2 separate regions of the Homo sapiens genome follow, and region 2 is linked to region 1. Evidence: promoter capture Hi-C in human tissues and cell types (Jung and others, 2019). All regions are on one chromosome and are shown on one strand. Each heading gives the region's core, a stretch centred on a gene start or on the middle of the fragment in contact. The rest is flanking DNA. Distances are from core to core; before and after follow the strand shown. Region 1 holds the start of AK8 (adenylate kinase 8). Region 2 has its middle 16 kb from the start of MIR548AW.

The links. The method cuts DNA at HindIII sites, captures the fragments that hold promoters and counts their contacts. A contact is called where the count stands out against the background at its distance.
Region 2: a fragment that was not itself captured here is called in contact with the fragment with the promoter of AK8 in region 1 in 9 of the 25 tissues and cell types used here (H1 embryonic stem cells, bladder, heart left ventricle and 6 more).

The regions. Positions count from the first base shown.
Region 1 is chr9:132,874,758-132,882,570 of GRCh38, forward strand. AK8 (adenylate kinase 8) reads right to left here and starts at 3,527. Exons shown (of 13, transcript NM_152572.3): 1 at 3,415-3,527; 2 at 358-442. The coding sequence starts at 3,498. It overlaps SPACA9 (sperm acrosome associated 9), which reads left to right and starts at 4,141. Exons shown (of 4, transcript NM_001316897.2): 1 at 4,141-4,257. The HindIII fragment of the contact is 8,008 bases long and covers 1,433-7,813 here.
Region 2 is chr9:132,957,883-132,965,206 of GRCh38, forward strand. It overlaps a transcript of GFI1B not described here, the pseudogene RPL39P24 and the pseudogene RNU7-21P. Among named protein-coding and RNA genes, the nearest start is that of MIR548AW, 16 kb to the left of the region's middle. The HindIII fragment of the contact is 7,856 bases long and covers 1-7,324 here.

The DNA.
Region 1 (7,813 bases), core at 2,277-4,776:
CAGAGAGCTGAAACCCAACAGGCGACATCAGCTAGGGCAGGCGAAAGCATTAATAATTGATTCCATGGGTCATTCTGGGGTTTTCATTTTAATAACTTGGCAAGAGAATTTTTATAAGTTGTGCTCCAAAAGAAATCAAGGCATTTTTCAATGAACCACCACCTCAAGTTGATGAAACCCCTCCCTTCTGACCTCCCTTCAGACACAGGTAGGACAGAATGGTGCTCAGCTATTCTCGGGATGGGGCAGGGTTCCTGGAGAGGAAGAGGAGGAGGAGGCAGAGGAGTCAGGGAAGAAGGGGAAGGAGGAGGAGGGGAAGGGAAGACGAGGAGGGGAAGAGCCCCAGCCAGTGCTCACCATTGTCGTTGTCTCTATGCAAGTGCTGGATCATGAAGGGGATGGGATCTTCGGGCTGGTGGATCAGGAGTTGCTCCAGCATGTTCTGTGGGTGCAGGGCAGACACCCAGGTGGTTAATACCTGCAAGGGCACCTGGTCACCACAGATACCAGCTATGGGGCCTGCTCTCTCCACTGCACCCCACCAAACATGCCTTCAACCTGGGACCCAGCCACCGCCCCAGCTGGCATCTGCTTGGGTCCCCATGAGCAGAGGCATGAGGGGGGCCACGTGGTGCTGCTGCGGAGGCACCTATGGGGAGGCAGAAGTGGAGGAGTCTCGCCCCTGATTCAGAGCAGGCAGTCCAGGGCTCTCTCCCCTGGGGCCCTTTGAGCTTCCCAGACCAGCCTTCTCCAAGTTCTCAAGCATCACCATTCCCCTCAGAGCCTTAGCAGATGCTGTTCCCTCAGCTTGGAAGCTTCTGCCTTGTCCTCATCCTGGCTAACTTCTGCTCAGTCTCAGATCTCAATGGGAACATACCTTCCTGAGTATGTGCACTACGTAAATATGTCAGATGCTCCTGCACCTGCCTGCGGGCATCGCCCTGTTCCACGCCTCACCCTGTCCCTACTCACCAGGCCACCATCCCCCCGGCAGGCCATGGGTTCTGTGGGCCTCCTTGTCTGCCTAGAGCCCTTGGCACCCCAATACCTGGCAGTCATAGCAGATGCCCAGCGCAGATGTTTGCTGGGGAACATGACCGTCACCACTAACTGTGTCTCTCCAGAATGGAACAGAATGTTACCAGCCAGATTTCTAAATAGTCCTGGGATATTCTGGCCATTTCATCCAATCAGGCAAGCATATCAAGAGAAAGCAGCTTCTGGGGTTGCAGAACCCTAGGCAGAGAAATGAGGAGGAGCTCATAGCAGCTGTGCTGCTGCAATAAGGGGTATCCTTGAGCCCCAGGGACAAGGAGGGAGGGGCTGTAGCCCTCTTGGAGTGAAGGGAGTGTGGGGCAGGGAAAGAGCACCGAGCCATGAGAAGTCTTGGTTCCAGCCCCACTGTATCTCATCAGCAAGTCCCTTCCCTTCTCTGGGCCTCAGCTTCTCTGCCTGTTCAGTAGCACAGCTGGAGTGAATTCATGTTTGTATGTCACTGGTGCGATGATGGAATGAGATGATTTTAGATGGTTCACACATAAATATTTTACATTTCATGTTTAAATCATTGTGTATTTAACGTGTATTAGAAATATAAGTACATCAAATCAATAATTTCAAGGATATCACTTAGGATGAGGCAAAAGCGGCTATTTAATTTTTTAAAAGGTGAGTTGATTTAAACAAGTGATTAGTTTAAATGGAGGTGCAGTAGCGGTTATGCAAATCTGTACATGTGATACAACTGCACAGAACTGTATGCACAACAAAAACATCAATGCAGGTAAAAATGGAGGAAATCCAAACAAGGCCTACAGTTCAGGTAATCCTATTGTACCAATGCCAGTTTCCTGGTTTTGACAATGTGCTACAGTTATGTTAGATGTTATCACGGGGGCAATGTGGGAGGGGAGACCAGAAATCCATACTATTTTTTAACTTCCTGTGAATCTAACATTATTTTAAAATCAAAAGTATAAAAAATGGAAATGGTCAAAAACATGGAGGGAATCCACAGATGACTAAGGACTGGAAATACTGGACTGAAAGCTTTCTTGTTGGGAGGCCGAGGCAGAAGGACTGTTTGAGCCCAGGAGTTCAAGACCAGTCCGGGCAACATAGCAAGACCTCGTCTGTACTAAAATTAAAAAAAAAACATTAGCCAGGTATGGTGGCCTGCACCTGTAGTCTCGGCTACTCTGGAGGGACTAAGGCAGAAGGATTGCTTGAGCCCAGGAGTTCAAGGCTGCAGTAAGCCATGATTGTATCACTGCACTCCAGCCTGGGCAGCAGTGCAAGACCCTGTTTCAAAATCAATAAAAGCTTTCCTGGGCAATTCCTCCAACAATCAATGTGGAAAACACACCAGGTTCTCTAGAGCAGACAACAGGGCTCCAGATGATCCCCCATCCTGCCCTGACCTGCTGACTTCTAACCCAGCTAGCTATTTGATTTGTGATTGGCCACTCAAGCAGTTTTAGGAATCTCTTGCTCTCCCTCTATCAGTTAACACTTTCCGAGGGAAATGTGTTTGATGGAGGTGCAGACACGGGTTTCTTCGTCTGGGCTCAGCTGTCTAGTGTGCAGGGCAGAACCTCAAATGACCACAGACACCACTATGCCCTCCATGCCATGCCCCTGGGGATGGGGTGTACCCTGGGAAGCAGACAAATGATCTGAAAACTGAGCTCCAGCTTCCCCTTGCCTCTCAGAACCTTTGAGTGGCTGAGAGTTCTTCCCCTCCAGCTCCTGAAAGCCTTGACCTCCACCACGTGCAAAAGGGAAAACTGGGGCCCTGGCGGGGACGGGGCCTCGCCCAAAGTCACACGGTGAGCTGGGGGCCCAGTCAGGCCTGGAGCCAGAATGAGAGCTTCGGAGCTGCCGGGGACGTCTGGCCCTGAGGAGGAGGGACCAAGGTGGGAGATGCTGCTGTCCCAGAGGCGGCCCTCTCTGAGGATGGAGATGCCAGCTTGAACTCGGACAATGCCCACCTCAGAAACCTGGGCCGAGAGGCTCCCCACAAATTCGACAGATGGTAATTGTCAGCGCCGGGAGAGCCCCTGGGAGACCACCTCTTGCAACCTGGCATTTCACAGGTGGGGAAACCGAGAAAAGGAAAGGACTGGTTCCAGACCATAAGGCCCGCTGGCGGCACAGCCAGGACCAAATCCCGGCTCGAGTGGCCCCCTTCCTCCCCCTGGGTCCGCCTGAGGCAAACCCGGGCAGGACCAGGAGCGTCCCCAGCTCGAGGGCCCCCTCGGGGTCACGGCGACACACGAATCGTACATCCCGAGTTGGGCTGCTTCGTGGGCGCGCGACTCGGCCCCAGCTGCGGGTCCCGGCCGCGCACCCGACGTCGCAGTGGAGGCTCCCGAGCCGCCGCCAGCGTCGCGACGGGCAGGGGTGTCCGGTCACCTGCATCAACTCGAAGATGTGGTTCTCCTCCCCGTACTGGGGCATCTCGGGGGGGATACGGTGCGGGGCGATAGTGGCGTCCATGTAGCCGTCTCGGCTCGCCGCTCCCTAGTAACCGCGTCGCTAGGGCCGCCGCGCCGACTGCGTCATCAGCACGCGCCGCGGCCCCGCCCTGCAGGCTCCGCGCCGGGCCCAGATACCCGATCCTCGGTCGCGCGGGTCGCCCCCGCCCCGACCTCCCCGGCTGACGCGCTCTGCGGCTCGGGCAAGTTCTTTCCCCAACCCCGGCCTCGCTTTTCCCATTTGCGCATCTTAGCGGGGGACACCCTCAGGTGGCTTCCAGCTGGGCCTCCTCGTATCTGAGACCCCCGACGAAACCCAGAAGGGGCAAGTCGGCCCTCCGAGGGGACGGGAGGCAGAACCTGCTTCTGGTTCTGTCAGTGCTCCCCGGCCCGGCTCCCTGTGCCTCAGTTTACCCATCTTTAAAACAGACGCGGGAATAAATGTGGGGGAGGGTGTTTGAAGGGGGAGGGGCGTCCATGAGATGGGCCGGAGGTTCGAGGATCGGGTGGAAATCCTCAGCCCAACTCCTAGAGTCGAGCCCCGGTAGACCCCTCCCAGCTCCCCGGCTCTGGCCAAGCCGCCAAGTGACCCGATTGCTATGGCACCGGCGGTAACAATCACGCCCGCGGCCCCGCCCCTTCTCGCCCGACGTCCCCACCCACCCTCGCCTCCCAAGTCCTGGAACGGGCCTCCCCACCCTCCGGGGCACCGACACTCACGGAGTCACTCCAACTTCTCTGGGTGCTCCGTGGAGCGAAGAGCGCTCTAGGACAAGCAAGGGTAAACAGGGATGAGTGTGGGTGGGCCCACTCGGACCCCACCCCGGCCTCTGGGTCAGAAACTGGAAGCTGGGGTGGAGGATGGAAAGATGGAGGGGTCCGGAGGATGGAGGGGCCTGCACAGCTGTCTCGGGGTGGGGGCGAGGGGAAGGTTCGCGCTGGAGACGGAGCTTTTTAAGTCGTATGAATTCCCAGTGGTACGGGGCAGCTTGATATTTTATTAGTCGCAACACTGAATTGGGATCTCTAGCTCTTGTCTGTTGCCGTTAATCGTAGGAGCTGTAAGAGTTTGTTGAACTCTTTGTGCTCTCGGCAAAATTCTGTTGTCTCTGTACCTTATGGAGAGGGAAAATGGCACAGTCAATGCAGACAGCCCCAGCTTCAAGTTCTGGCTCCGCTTCTTACTGTGTGAGCTTGGCAAACTCTCTGCTTGCTCCGTGCCTCACTTTCCTGCCCTGTGAAGAGGGAACTGCTGAAGGATTTCAGGAGCTAATGTATTGGAGAGTAATTGGCATGCAGTAAGCACACAATATATGGGGCTACTATTAGTAGTAGTATCTCATTTAATCGTTCCAACAATCCTGTGAAATAGGCACCTTCATTCCCATTTTACAGATGAGAAGTTGGAGGATTAGAACAATGAGGAGTGGTTGGCTGGGTAACTTTGGGTGAGTCACTTCCCCTTTCTGGGCTTCTTTTCTCATCAGTTGTTGATCATACAGCCTTAGAACCAGAAGGCCTCTTGAAGAAGAGGCTAATCCAAACTCTCTCATTTGACAGATGGATAAACTGAGGCCCAGAAAAGGGGGAAATCTTGGCTAGGGCCACTGGTTAGATTGGGCAGAGCCAGGGCATGAACTCTGCATCCAGGCTCCAGCTAAAGCCCTTTTCTACCAGCCATCAGCCCAGAGACATGCCCTCCCAACGTAAAAGCCAGCACTGTTGCCTCTTCCCCTCCAAACCGCTTCCTCAAAGTGTGTACACCTTGGTAGGCTTGTCAAACCCAACTGTAAAGATAGCTGGGGAAGAAAAGGAAGCTGCCTCCCCCTGAGCAAAGAACACAACAGCCATGCCTGCCATTTGCACTGGAGAGGTTTGTTTTGCTTCCTGGACATTTCTGAAATGACTTGCCTTTCTCCTCATTTATTTTAAGCCCTAGGCGCTTTTCCTACCATGATTCAATCTTCTTTAGCAGCCTGGAAAAATACAAATCAATTAAAGCCTAAAACCTATGGGTAATCATTTTTTTCCTCCCTCCTCCCCCAGATCGAGAAGTGCCCGTCCCCTGTGCCCTTCATCCACACTAATTTGGCTGCAGTGGCTCTCGTTCAAGGGACGATCACTTCGGATAGCTTATTACAGCTCCTCTCATGACATTCCTGGCGTGCATGTCACAAGTTGCTAGGATCAAGAACAGAGTCAGTTCCTCTCAACCACTACCAACCACAGCTCCCACCATGATGAGGGAAAAGCCAGGCCGAAAGGGCACACGCCCTTTCTCCCTGGAACTCCACCTATGTGCTCTCTCTCACTTTTCTGGAGCTTCACCTTTGAGTCATTTGTAAGCCCTGGGCCAACATTAGGGCAAGGCAAGTGATGCACCCTCAGCACAAAACTTAAGGGAGTGCCGGCAATTCAATCATTGAGGTGGATGTTTTTCACGTTTTAATGCAATATATTTTAAAAATCAAAAATAATGCTGCCTAAAATCCATTTAGAATAACATGTCAAAAATTTAAGTAAAGGTAGGCTCAGTGTTACTGATTTCTCCTTTTGCCTCAGGCCTCAGTATGGCAAGGTGCAGCTATCTTTTTTTTTTTTTTTTTTGAGATGGAGTCTTGCTCTGTCGCCCAGGCTGGAGTGCAGTGGCGCCATCTCGGCTCACTGCAAGCTCCGCCTCCCAGGTTCACGCCATTCTCCTGCCTCAGCCTCCCGAGTAGCTGGGACTACAGGCGCCCGCCACCGTGCCCGGCTAACTTTTTTTGTATTTTTATTACAGACAGGGTTTCACCGTGTTGGCCAGGATGGTCTCAATCTCCTGACTTCGTGATCCACCCACCTCGGCCTCCCAAAGTGCTGGGATTACAGGCGTGAGCTACCGCGCCCAGCCAGCAATCTTTTCTTTACAAATTCTGATGTTGCCAGCTCATGCTTCTAATCCCAGCACATTGGGAGGCTGAGGTGGGAGGATCGCTGGAGCCCAGGAGTTCGAGACCAGCCTGAGCAACATAGGGAGACCCCATCTCTACAAAAAAAAAGAAAAAAAAAAAAGAAAAAAAAGAAGAAAAAAAAAAAAAGAAAAAAGGTAGTCAGGCATGGTGGCACATACCTGAGGTCCCAGCTACTCAAGAGGCTGAGGCGGGAGGATCACTTGAGCCCAGGAGGTCAAGATTGCAGTGAGTCGTGATCACAGCACCACACTCCAGCCTGGGTGAAAGAGCAAGACCCATTCTTTAAAAAACGTTTTTGGGGCTGGGTACAGTGGCTCATGCCTATCATCCCAGCACTTTCGGAGGCTGAGAAAGGGAGATCACTTGAGGCCAGGAGTTCAAGACCAGCCTAGCTGACGTGGTGAAATTCCATCTCTACTAAAAATACAAAAAATAGCCAGGTGTAGTGGCACCCACCTGTAATCCCAGCTACTCAAGATGCTTTTTTTTTTTTTTGAGACAGGGTCTCACTGTGTCACCCAGGTTGGAGTGCAGTACTGCGATCATGGCTCACTGCAGCCTTGACCTCCTGGGTTCAAGCGATCCTCCTGCCTCAGCCTCCCAAAGTGCTGGGATTATAGGCATGAGCCACTGTGCCTGGCCTATTTTCATCTTGATTGCCGAGTTTTTTGGCGCCTCCTTAAGTTTTGCATGGGGGCAAGTGTCTCCCTCACCTCACCCTAGTTGGTCCTGGGTGAGCCGGACACCACGGGAGGCACAACAGGAAACCACTGTGCGTGAGTCAGCATGTCTGCTCCATGTGGCAGGGACCAGCCAAGGATATGGCAGGTGTCAATAAACCATGGACCCCCCATCTCATTCCCCACCTTCAGCTCTCCTTTCCATAGGAGGTTGAGCTGGAAAGAGGCCCCTGCCCTGCCTGCCCTGGCCCAGGCCCACCCCCAGGGCAGCTGCGACTGTCCCTGTGTCTGTTGACAGTCACAGTGCTGTGGCTCTGCTGCAGAAGCATACTCTCTTGTCTTTCCAGGAGACTCACTCAGTGGCTCTTAAGGTGGCTCCTCTAAGGCAGCCTTGCTGGCTTTTGGCTCCAGGGATAGAGGCTCCATGGCTGGGCTCCATCTTGCTAAAGGGCCTCTTCCCCAGCCTCCTCCAAGTGCTCTGATGTACCACCCCCATCATCTCGCGGAGGCCATCTCCTGGTCTGTTCTTGTGTTTCCTTTCATTCCTCTGATGCCATCTCTTCTTGCATCAACTGGGATGCTCCCCCTACCCTGCCTCTTTTTTTTTTTTTTTTTTGAGTCAGGGTCTCCCTGTGTCCTAGGCTGGAGTGCAGTACTGCGATCATGGCTCACTGGAGCCTTGACCTCCTGGGTTCAAACTGGACCC
Region 2 (7,324 bases), core at 2,190-4,689, 83 kb after region 1:
CATTGAGTACCGAACAGTTTCCTATGGTTTTGCGTGCATATATTTACCTTCAGAATAATCCTATGCAGTAGGTGTAATTTTACAGGTAAGGGAACTGAGTCAGAGAGACTTGCCCCAGTCACCGGATAATCAACGTCTGAGTCATAACCACTGGAGACACAGTAGGGGCAGATCACGAGGGGTCATGTGAAGGTGTTTGACCTTGATCCTGAGCTCAGTGAGGAGCCTTGAAGGATTTTAATTGGGTCGACATCTGCTGGGGTGTAGAGAATGGGGCCAGGCCAGAAGGCAGGGAGGGGCTGTTTAGAAACAGGATGCAGTACTCCAGGGGAATGGTGATGACAGCCTGGATTAAGGTGGTAAGACGGGAGATAGAGGAGAAAGAGGATGTGTTAGGCCGTTCTTGCGTTGCTACAAAGAAATATCTGAGACTGGGTAATTTATAAAGAAAAGAGGTTTAATTGGCTCACAGTTCTGCAGGTTGTACAAGAACCATAGCGGCATCTGCTTCTGAGAAGGCTTCAGGAAGCTTCCAATCATGGCGGAAGGCAAATGGAAAGCAGGCACGTCACATAGAGAAAGCAAGAGCAAGAAAGAGACAGCGAGGAGGTGCCACACACTTTTAAATGACCAGCTTTCATGAGAAGTCATTCACTATCAAGAGGACAGTACCAAGAGGATGGTAATAAACCATCCGTGAGAAATCTGCCCCCATGATCTAATCACCTCCCACCAGACCCCACCTCCAATATTGGGGATTACATGTCAGCATGAGATTTGGGCAGGGACACACATCCAAACTATGTTGGAAGTTGAACTCAGGATTTTAGCTAGGGTGTGGGTGGTGCCATTCCCTGAGACATGAGGTAGGAACTGGGCTAGAGAACGTGGGCTGATGTCACTTTGGGACCAGCTCAATTGAGATGCCAGAGAGACAGGCCCAGTGGATTTGGAGTTTAGACTTGAAGGCAGAGGCCAAGATTTGGGAAGTGTTGGCATTCAGAAGGTAAATGAGAGACCAGGAGAACTGGCCATGGCAGCTGAGGGTGTGCAGTGGGTGAGCCGGGCCCTCTGGTGAGGACAGAGAGGGCTGGCCTATTGGGATCCTGGCTCTGCAAACAAGATGTGTGGTCCTGGGTGAGTCTCCAAGCCTCAGTTTCTCTGTCTGTAAAATGGAGATGACACTAATACCTTAAATTCCCAGCTCAGAAGGTTCCCAGGACAGTGACATGGTTTGGCTGTGTCCCCACCCAAATCTCATCTTGAACGGTAGTTCCCATAATCCCCATGTGTCATGGTAGGGAAACTGGGGGAGGTAATTGAGTCATGGGGGTGGTTCTCCCATGCTGTTCTCGGGATAGCGAGTGAGTTCTCACGAGACCTGATGGTTTTATAAGGGGCTTTCCCCACTTTGCTCGGCACTTCTCCTTCCTGCCGCCACTTGAAGAAGGACATGTTTGCTTCCCCTCCTGCCATGATTGTAAGTTTCCTGAGGCCCTCCCAGCCCTGAGGAACTGTGAGTCAATTAAACTGCTTTCCTTTATAAATTACCCAGTGCCAGGATTTCTTCACAGCAACGTGAGAACAGGTTAATACGGACAGTCCAGTGAGAGACACGTGTGAATATCTAGCAGAGTGCCCACGCAGTGTGAGCACTGAGTAAATATTGTTACTGTTGATGCCTGCTATATTCATTTCCCAGGGCTGCCATAACAAGTTACTGCAAACTGGGTGGCTTAAAACAACAGAAGATTATTCTCTCACAATTCTCGAGGCCAAAAGTCCCAAACCCAAGGTGTCAGTCAGCAGGGTTGGTTCCCTCTGAAGGTTCCGAGGGAGCAGCTGTTCCCTGGCTCTTTCTAAGCTTCTGGTGGTCACTGGCCATGCTTGGTGTTCCTTGGCTGTGGCTGCGTCAGCCCAGTCTCTGCCTCCATCTTCATGCAGGCTTCTCCTCTGTGTCCCTCTGTGTTTGCTCCTCTTCTTATGAGACCCCAGGCATTGTATTTAAAGCCCACCTCAACCCAGTGTGAATTCAGCTGAACCGAACTTCATCTTCAAAGACTCCCTTTCCAAATAAAGTCACGTTCTGCGGTTCCAGGTAGACATGAATTGGGATGAGGAGATAATTCAGTCCCCTATACCTGCTGGCAAGGAGCATGGACCCAGCAGATGACATGGGAAAGACTGATCCTACTCTGCTCAAGGCCAGGTCCAGCCCAGAACCACCCTACAAAGTGCTGCAGGAGAAAGACGTCAAAATTAGAGTGATGAGGGCAACTTACTGGTGAGGGTGAGACTTGAACTTTGCTTCTGGTTTCATCAAGAATTTGATCAATGGTGATGGAGCAGATGGGCTTTACGACAGTAGGACCCAGCTTGAGCAGAAGCAGGGAAGCAAGACCACAGAAGGCTTGCTTGCTTTATAAATGGTCAGGTGTAGGGAATAGGAGGCAAGAAAAGTCATGTATGAAGGACCCTGGGCTAAATAAGCAGCCTGGGCTATATCTGTAGGCAACGCAGAACCCCTGGAAGTTTGTGAGTTCAGGAAAGAAGGAAAGAGCTGTCTGTGGAATGTTGTCAAAGGCTTCATCTTGACATTGATGCCTGCCAATTTTATTTATTTATGTATTTATTGAGACAGGATCTCGCTTTGTCCCTGCTTGGAGTACAGTGGTGCGATCATAGCTCACTACAGCCTCGAGCTCCTGGGCTCAAGTGGTCCTCCCAACTCAGCCTCCCAAAGAGCTGGGAATATGGGCATGTACCACTACACCCGGATACTTTTTTTATTTTTATTTTTTTAGAGATTGGGCCTAACTATGTTTCCCAGGCTGGTTTCGAAGTCCTGGTCTCAAGAGATCCTCCCACCTCAGTCTCCCAAAACATTAGGGTTACAAGCATGAGCCACCGAGCCTGGCTCAATTAAAATTTAAAATTCTGGGTGTTTTGTCTTCTTGGGTAGGCCACCTCCTCTCTCAAATCCCTGATCACGCCTCTACACACCCCCAGCAATAAATTGTGCCGGGCCACACTCCGCAGCGTGTTGGATGTTAAAGAGTTTCATGGTCACCGTGAGACCATTTCTCAGTCCCCCAAGCAGCAGCATTCACAGCTAGAGGTTTTATTTTAGCTGCGCCTCCCCTGAAGCATATGCAGTGACCATTTGGAAAAAGATAAAGTTAGATCCCTCTCCACACCCTACACCAGAATAAACTTTAAGTGTCAAAAGTGAAATCATACGAGTGCAAGAAGAAAACATGAGTGAATTCTGTGTAATCAGGAGTGAAGAAAACCTTTCTAAAAATGGCTGAACAGTCAGAAACAATAGAAGACCGATAAGTTAGGCGACCTCAAAAAACCAAAGCAAAACAAAACAAAACAAAAACCTTTTCCATGGTAAGAAGAAAGCAAGCAGAGCAAAGTCAGAAGATAAATGATAGACGGAGAGAAAACTTTTGCAACTTATATCACAAACGGCCTCTCTAATATACACAGAACTATTATATCACAGTCTTAATTGTGAAAAGTCAATTATTTGACAAAAAAAAAAAACAACAGAAAAAAGGCATAAATGGAAAGTTTTCAGAAAAATGTAAGTGACCCTAAGAAGTATGAAAAGACAGCCTCACTCAACATAAAGGAAACACAAATTAAAACTACCCTGGGATGCCCTTCCTCCTGTCCTATCAGATTGGCAAAATACCTCTCATTTTTTTTTTTTTTTTTTGAGACGGAGTCTCGCTCTGTCGCCCAGGCTGGAGTGCAGTGGTGCAATCTTGGCTCACTGCAAGCTCTGCCTCCCGGGTTCACGCCATCCTCCTGCCTCAGCCTCCCCAGTAGCTGGGACTACAGGTGCCCGCCACCACACCTGGCCAATTTTTTGTGTTTTTAATAGAGACAGGGTTTCACCATGTTAGCCAGGATGGTCTCGATCTCCTGACCTCGTGATCTGCCTGCCTCAGCCTCCCAAAGTGCTGGGATTACAGGTGAGAGCCACCGCACCCGGCCAAAATTCCCCAAATTTGACAACCCACCTTGCTGGCAAGGCTGTGGGAACAAATCTACACTTCTGGGAGTGGGAGGACAGGACTGCACACCCTCTCTAGACAGGAATTTGGCCATATCTAAGGCCATAATGTGTGCATTCTTTCTTTGCTATGCATCTTCCCTACACACCTACACTCTACACACACACACACACACACACACAACCCTACACTCACACATGTGTGCATACAGAATTGTTTTTTTTTTCTTTTTTTTTTTTTCTTTTGAGACAGAATCTCACTCTGTCACACAGGCTGGAGTACAGTGGTACCATCTCAGCTTTCTGCAACCTCCACCTCCTGAGTTCAAGCAGTTCTCGTGGCTAAGCCTCCCAAGTAGCTGGGGCCACAGATGCGAGCCACCATGCCTGGCTAATTATTTGTATTTTTAGTGGAGACAGGGTTTCACCATGTTAGCCAGGCTGGTCTCAAACTCCTGACCTCAGGTGATCCGCTCACCTCAGCCTTCCAGAGTGCGGGATTACAAGTGTGAGCCTCCTCTCCTGGCCCATAAAAGATTCTTTCTTCTCTCTCTCTTCCCTTCTCTGCTATCGTGGTGTGTGTTTGACTCTGCTTCTCGCCATGTCTTCTCACAAGACTTTGAGGATTAAGTGATTCCTGGCCAAGAAACAAAAGCAAAAATCATCCCATTTCCCAGTGGAATCAGATGAAAACTGGTAATCAAATTAGGTACAACTCCAAAAGGAGATATTGAAGAAGAACCAAGCTGGGTCTATAAGGAATTACACATGAGATGACACACATATTATGTTCTATCAAGGTCACCATCATCACCATATCAAGCTGAAAATGTCACCATATCTGGACAGTTTGACATGTTTTATTAGGAATACATTTTTGACAAGGCGCAATGGCTCACGCCTGTAATCCCACTAATTTGGGAGGCCAAGGCGGGTGGATCACTTGAGGTCAGGAGTTTGAGGCCAGCCTAGCCAACGTGGTGAAAACCCATCTCTACTAAAAATACAAAAAAAAAAAAAAAAATAGCCAGGCGTGGTGGCACCAGCCTGCAGTCCCAGCTAATTGGGAGGCTGAGGCAGGAGAATCTCTTAAACCCAGGAGACAGAGGTTGCAATGAGCTGATATGGCGCCACTGCGCTCCAGCCTGGGCAACAGAGTGAGACTCCATCTCAAAAAAAAAAAAAAAAAAAAAAAGGAATCTATTTTTTCTCTTTGTTTACATGTTGTACACTAGTAGGCTGGGTTCAGTATTACATATATGGGAACTTTCATTTCAAAAAAATATTATTGGTCAGGCGTGGTGGCTCATGCCTGTAATCCCAGCACTTTGGGAGGCTGAGGCGGGCAGATCACGAGGTCAAGAGTTCAAGACCAGCCTGGCCAACGTGGTGAAACCCCATCTCTACTAAAAATACAAAAATTAGTGGCATGTTGTGGCACGCACTTGTAGTCCCAGCTACCCAGGAGGCGAAGGCAGAATAATCTCTTGAACCTGGGAGGCGGAGGTTGCAGTGAGCTAAAATCACGCCAGATGCATTCCAGTCTGGGCGACAGAGACAGATTCCGTCTCAAAAAAATTATTATTATTATTATTGTTATTATTATTTTCCCTTGAGATGGAGTCTTGCTGTCATCCAGGCTGGAGTGCAGTGGCGTGATCTCGAACTCCTGATCTCAGGTGATCCAGCCACCTTAGCCTCCCAAAGTGCTAGGATTACAGGTGTGAGCCACTGCACCCGGCCAAAAAAATATTTCTTATGGCATTATCTGCAAAAGTTGAATATTGGAGACAACCCAAATGTCAATTAATAGGGGACTGATTAGTGTTACAGTTCTTTTAGAATTTGTCTAGCAGGCTTTCTGGTTTTTGCCCAAAAGCCTCTCAAAAAAGTTTAAAAAAGAAAAAAAATAGGGGACTGATTGAATAAACTATGGCGCAGTAAGATGCAGAGATAAAAATGCGAATTTTGTCAAGAACCAAGATTTCCAATGTAAGAGAAAAGAGACACAAATATAAAATCAAGTATTTTTAAAAACCTATAATGCAGGCTGGGCATGGGTGGCTCACACCTGTAATCCCAGCACTTTGGGAGGCCAAGGTGGGAAGATCACCTGAGGTCAGGAGTTCAAGACCAGCCTGGCCAACATGGTGAAACCCCATCTCTACTAAAAATACAAAATTAGCTGGGCATGGTGATGCACGCCTGTAATCCCAGCTACTTGGGAGGCTGAGGCAGGAAAATCGCTTGAACCTGGGAGGTGGAGGTTGCAGTGAGCCGAGACCACGCCATTGCACTCCAGCCTGGGCAACAAAAGCAAAACTCCATCTCTAAATAAATAAATTAATTAAATAAAAACCTATAATGCTGAGAAATTACTTAACGGGTACAATATACACTATCTGGTGATGGATACACTAAAATACCAGACTTCACTACTATGCAATCTATGCATATAACAAAACGGCTCTTGGACCCCTTCACTGTATACAAACAAAACCCAGTAATGCTAAATTCAAACTGAGAATATCAATAGGAACTTGTGAAAATTGTCTGAATCAATTTTCAGCCACTTGTATTAAAAACCCTGACAAGAAGAGCCGGGGAAGGCCATGACGGGCGGGTTCTCATGCATCAATGCCTGGTCACAATCACTATCGCAAAAGATTTTGCAAAAACCACAACCTTGCACAAAGGCCGTCACAATTCTACACACACAAAAATACTTCTGTGAGGACATCTGCCCAGCAACTGCCTGTCCAGTCTTGAACTGTGCTACCCTTGTTACTGATCCTTGTAGCCAAGGATGATTATCTCAAAACAATTTTTCTTCCTTTTTTTTTTTTTTTTTTTTTTTTTTTTGATGGAGTTCCAGGCTGGAGTGCAGTGGCGTGATCTCGGCTCATTGCAACTTCTGCCTCCTGGTTTCAAGCGAGTCTCCGGCCTCAGCCTTCCGTGTAGCTGGGATTATAGGCACCTGACACCATGCCCGGCTAATTTTTGTATTTTTAGTAGAGATGGGGTTTCGCCATGTTGGCCAGGCTGGTCCTCATTTTTTCTTTAAAAACTTTTGCCTTCCTTTACCTCCCAGAATATGTACATATCAATAATTTACTATGGCCCCCATATTCCCATTGCAATGCCTATACCTGAATAAACATTATTTTCTTCTAGAGAGTCTTTCTCTCTGTTTGTTGTTTAGATTGACAAAGTCATAATTACAAAAATAAATTAAAAAGCATCGATTTCCTAGTTCTGAACACTGAAACAGCTTAGAGGCAGGTGCCCAGTAACAAG